Linked DNA regions of Homo sapiens: region 2 is linked to region 1. Evidence: promoter capture Hi-C in human tissues and cell types (Jung and others, 2019). All regions are on one chromosome and are shown on one strand. Each heading gives the region's core, a stretch centred on a gene start or on the middle of the fragment in contact. The rest is flanking DNA. Distances are from core to core; before and after follow the strand shown. Region 1 holds the start of NAA16 (N-alpha-acetyltransferase 16, NatA auxiliary subunit). Region 2 overlaps VWA8 (von Willebrand factor A domain containing 8).

Region 1 (2,748 bases), core at 161-2,660:
GTGGTGGTGCATGCCTGTCATCCCTGCTACTTGGGAGGCTGAGGCAGGAGAATCGCTTGAACCTGGGAGGCGGAGGTTACAGGGAGCTGAGATAGCGCCATTGCATTCCAGCCTCGGCAACAAGAACAAAACATCGTCTCAAAAAAAGGAAAATAAAAAAGGGCAGCCCAGTTCTGATTACAGCCGACTAAATGCAGTTACTCATCAATTACTTTATAGTCTCAGAAATATGCACCCATTAAGATTCAGCACATGTATAAATAAACTTATGTACCTAATGTTTACACACACCTTACTACTAACCCTACACTGAATGTATGGTTTATTCTTGCCACTGTTGTATCTTTCTAGACTCACACATTACCATCAATATGCTGCCTTTTATTTGTTGTAGAGAGTATCCCAGAGTTGGAAGATCCTGAATTTGAAGCCTGTTTCTCCCATTATTATATGGCTTTCAGGAAGGGGAACCATCTGAAGAGAAAGGGTAGGTAGACTCAGAAGACCAGTGGCCTTATAAAACCGTAATTCCGGCCAGGTGTGGTGGCTCACGCCTGTAATCCCAGCACTTTCGGAGGTTGACGCGGGGGCGGATCACGAGGTCAAGAGATCAAGACCATCCTGGCCAACATGGTGAAAGCCTGTCTCTACTAAAAATACAAAATTAGCCGGGTGTGGTGGCGCATGCCTGTAATCCCAGCCACTCGGGAGGCTGAGGCAGGAGAATCCTTTGAACTCAGGAGGCGGAGGTTGCAGTGAGCCCAGATAGCGCCACTGCACTGCAGCCTGGGCGACAAGAGCGATACTCCATCTCAAAACCAACCAACCAAACAAAAACAAAGATTGTAAATGTTTGTTTGGTTTGCCCTGGAAAGAGAAGGCTTCTACTTAGAGTCTGAATCAAGGAGGAAAAGGAAAGAAAACAAGTTCATCTTTCATCAAAAGTCTACTTTGCATCGGACACTTAAATTCCTAAATGGGGAGAAATGCAAAAAACTCTGACTCTTCAGAGTCATAACTAACATTATCTTGCGCCACAAGCTTATCAAGAGTGCAATACAAGTCAGTGTCTTCTCTTTTCTACTTAAAAGAAAATTCTCGTTTTTATTTATTACTTTATTGCAAGGAGAAGCAGACAATAAGTAGGAGTCTTATGAGGCGTTCTGATGCATAGGAGCAATGGTGAATGAGGGTGGTGACTCACCACCCCATGGGACTCCAAGGTTTTGGTGACAGCTCGCCTGAGCCCCAGGGGGTGCCGAGATTGCGGCGAGGAGAGCCGCAGCACAAGGCAAATCCACGCGGTTGGTCCCCGCTACGCCCCCGTAGTCACCCGCAGCCCCTCGCCAAAGGGCGCTCCGCGCATGCGCACAGGATCCGGCTCGGGAGGCGGACCCTGGCTGCCATCTTGCAGTGCGCGGGAACCGCCGCCGCCGCCGCTGGCCAAAAAGCGGAGCCCAGGGGAAGCGTGTCCTGCTCAGACCGCCTTCCTTCTCCATTGCCACCCGTGCCGAACAGCCAGGCTGCCCAATTGCAACTGTAGACCAATGAACTAATCCATCGCCCGCAGCCCGACTCTCAGCAGCGGTTCGTCCCGGTGCCCACCCCCGCGAAGCGGAGCGCCCGGGCACCTAGCCTCCCTGCCGGCCACCTAGCCTCCCTGCCGGCCACGATGCCGAACGTGCTGCTGCCGCCCAAGGAGAGCAACCTCTTCAAACGCATCTTGGTGAGTGGCCGTAGGCCGCGCTGCCGCCCCCCGGTCCCCGGGTCCTCGGGCCTTAAGGGCAAGCGGTCTGGCGGCGGCCGGCGCGGGCCAGGCTTGGCCTCCGCTGCCCACCGCTCTTTGTTTACCTCGGAGGTCGCGGGACCCCACTTTCCCGCTCCGGCCGGCCCACGGGGGCTGCCGAGCCGCTCCTCCGTGCGCTTCCTTTCCGCGGTCTTCTGCGGCTCGCCTCACCCCCGCCGCGCTCTTTCCAGAAACTTCACGCCGCTCTCCGCAGTGCCCGGGCACAGCCGCCTCGGCCGGTAGTGGCTGCCGTGCTCTCTGCCGCGCCGGGCTCGCAGCAGCCCCTCAGGGATCCTCCCCCGGTGGTTTATTTTGCCAGTCTCTCCTCGGCTAGGTGTTTTGCGTTCTGCATTCTCTGCTTTGCGTTTAGTTAGATTGCACAGCACACCCGCATACCTATTAAAGCGGGATCGATGCGATGGTGGAATTTTTCCTGGTTACGAGGAAATAAAACCGGCAACTTTAGGAAGCCAGGCCTGGCACCACCTCCCTTTGGGAAAAAGTTTGCCTGTTTGTAATGTACCTTATTTACCTCTTTGGAAGTGAATATTTGACTTGAAGTGCGTTTCTGAGTTGTCACCAACTTCAAAACAGCTGTTTGCTTTTTAGTCGCACAGGCCTTGCTTGAGTAATTAAAGCCGCGTGGACTGGCTGGTTTTGCATTTGAGGGGAGCATTTTTACTTTATCGCGGAGCAGAAGCCTGAATAATGGCCCCGTAGTGATGACCGCTGCGGAGCCGGGTGGGCAGTTTTCTGTGGGCTGTGTGCCAGCGTCCCTGGTAGCTTTCCAGGTTCTGTTCTTCCAAGGAGAAGAGGCAGCATTCCTTTGCTTTCCTCAGTATCCTCTGGCTACCCTAGGTTTTAAACTAATATTGTTAGTAGGTAACTGTCTTTTCTAGTTTATCTTTTCACCTGAAAAAAAGCTTTTATTTGCTAAACATGCATTTAGGTTTAAAGGTGAA
Region 2 (2,748 bases), core at 107-2,606, 610 kb after region 1:
ATGGTAAATGCAATGACCAAGATGGTCTCATCCTGCCCAGTATGTCAATGGCACCATAGTTGAGAAATATTGTGTAGTCATTATTTTTTCTCAAGGCCTCTGTTGCCTGCACACCACTAATGAGTTTGTCACAATTAAGCCCAGAGAAAGAGTTTCTCTCTATTTCCTTTACCTTCTGAAAGATAAAACTTTTAGCGAGGAAATCAGTAGAGAATAAGTTCTACCTTTAGAGTAAGTCTGTAGGAGTTGTCAGGATATCTAAGGCTCTCATCATCACATTCCAATTTTACATAAGTTTCTTAATACATATAAGCTACTTCTGAATCCCATGGCTGGCCTTGTAGTCTATGGCATACCTTCACAAAGAAAATACATTTTCCCTGCTTTTATTCTCCCTCAATAACAATACTAATAATGGCTATAATTTATTGCATTCCTATCAGGTACCAGGTAAACATACAAACGATTTTTCACATAGGATCTCATAACAATTCTAGAAAGCAGCAGACCTATTGTATAAAGACACAGATTCAAGACAGATTGGCTGGGTTCAAATTCCAACTCTACTATTTACTAGCTATGTAACCTTAATCAAGTTATTTAACCTCTCTGCTCAGTTTCCTCATCTGTATAATAGATACAATTGTACTTACTTATAAAGTTGTTATGAGGATTATATTAAGCACTTAGAACAGTGTCTAATAACAGTAAATGCTGTGTTTGTTAAATACTCATTACTCCCATTTTACAATAAGAAAATCAAAATTGGAAATGTAGTATCATTTGTCTATAGCTGCTAAGTCCATAAACCAAGATTTATACCTAAGTTGTTTAAGTCCAAAACTTGTATTTCAGTCATTATGTTCTACAGTCCCTCCAAAAGCTTTTCAACAGGTGTCCAGCTTCAGGTGCAAGACTTTCCCTACAAGTGTGGACCTCTCAGGGCTACATCAAATTTAGCAGACTTGCTGTTCCAGCCATTAGTTCTACTTCTTTTTGGTGGTATCAATGGTATGTTTTATTCCTTTTATTAAAATTTCAAAGTTATTTTGTAATGAATATTATGTTATCAGAGGATCTACTTCTCAAAGAAAATCCAACTTTCACTTATTCATGTTTTAGTATAGCGTATTTTACCAAAAAGCATGTCTATATTTAATTTGTCAGGAAATTGCACTAAACTACTGAAAGAAAGCATCATGCAGTGCTATGTGGTATCTGTGGTATATTTTACATTAATGCTTGAAACTAGCTGTATTTTTAGAATGGCCTCAAGAAAACATGAGTCATACTTAAAAGCACGCCAGAAATAGAAACAAGATTCAAGACTGTACATTACGAACATCTGCAAAACAAAGTGCCAAACTGCCATGCATAACCTAATATAAACATAGCACAGTACACGAGAGAAATCCCCAACTTCAATGTTTTCAGGCACAAAATGCTACCTTCCAGGAGTCCACATAATAATAAACCGATGTCAAAATAATCCCAAAGAGCTTGATCCTATATTCTAAGATTCCTTTTCTATGTAAAGATAAAAACATGTAGTTCATACTGGCCTAAATCCCTGATTCAATTCCTAACCAATATTTGTTTTCAAAAAATATGTACTATTTTTTGCCCAGCCATATTCAAAGGCTTTAAAGTAATTTTATCATAGTTATCTAAATTATAATTTTCTCCCTTCATGAACTCAAATTTTCATACATATAAAAGTTAAAATTAAAATTCTAGAAAATTAAGCATAGGTCAGATTCTATTATAATAAATCCTTCAAAACTGTTGATGTTTTCTTAGTATCCCAAAAAGCAGCATAATATAATGGAGGAAAAAAAAAAGTCTTTGAAGCCAGACAGACCTACTGTGATTTTTCATCCTGTCTTTTATCCATGTCCTTAGACAAGCATTTTGACTCTTTCAGGTCTGTTTCCTTATTTTCTTTTTTAAATTTTTTAAATTATACTTTAAGTTCTGAGATACATGTGCAGAACACGCAGATTTGTAGTTTCCTTATTTTCAAAATAAAGATAATAATACTTATTGAGTATGGTTTGTGAGGATTATAGGTAAAGCACCATGCCCAGTCCCTCAGCCAATGAGAACCAGGTACGGGAGAATTATTCAAGTCTCATCCTCACCTGCAAACTCCTATCTCTGCTGTGTACCCTGGACACCAGGCTGTATAGTGTGGATTTGGTGGATATGAATAGGCTCCTGAGTTTACACTCAAATTACCTGCTGGGCCTAGAGGCAAATCTGAAGAATAAGGGAGAAAGGAACCCAGTACTTACTACATCCTCACTGGTAAAGCCTATGTTAGAGTACTTTCACTTGACATTTCATTACCATTTCATCACCCCACAAAATAGCTCAGAAAGAATCTACATCTAGGCCCATAACATGCCCCTGAATTTGATTTTTCTACCACATCACAACACAAGATTTCAAAGGAAGCATGACTAACCTCCTCACTGCAACTACGTGCTCATCTGCTAAACTTTCCCCTATTTACCATGTAACATTCTGTAGTTAGATATAATGGACATGAAGGGTGAAAATATTTAGCACCAAAGTCCTCATTATTTACAACACGAACTAACTGAACTAAAAAATTAATTTATTCACACAGCTATATTTATTAAGGACCTACTATATGCTCAGCACCAAGAATACAAAGATGAATAAAATAAGGTTCTTTGAAGACATCAAAAGAAAAATACATATATAAAACATCAGCTTACGTAG

What was found. Contacts are between HindIII fragments. The study calls those that stand out against the background at their distance.
Region 2: a fragment that was not itself captured here is called in contact with the fragment with the promoter of NAA16 in region 1 in 1 of the 25 tissues and cell types used here (dorsolateral prefrontal cortex).

Annotation. Positions count from the first base shown.
Region 1 is chr13:41,309,857-41,312,604 of GRCh38, forward strand. NAA16 (N-alpha-acetyltransferase 16, NatA auxiliary subunit) reads left to right here and starts at 1,411. Exons shown (of 20, transcript NM_024561.5): 1 at 1,411-1,726. The coding sequence starts at 1,673. It also overlaps a transcript of MTRF1 not described here. The HindIII fragment of the contact is 7,787 bases long and covers 1-2,748 here.
Region 2 is chr13:41,915,476-41,918,223 of GRCh38, forward strand. All of the region lies in intron 2 of VWA8 (von Willebrand factor A domain containing 8), which reads right to left. Among named protein-coding and RNA genes, the nearest start is that of VWA8, 44 kb to the right of the region's middle. RefSeq lists enhancers at 1,221-1,300, 2,410-2,529. The HindIII fragment of the contact is 3,772 bases long and covers 1-2,748 here.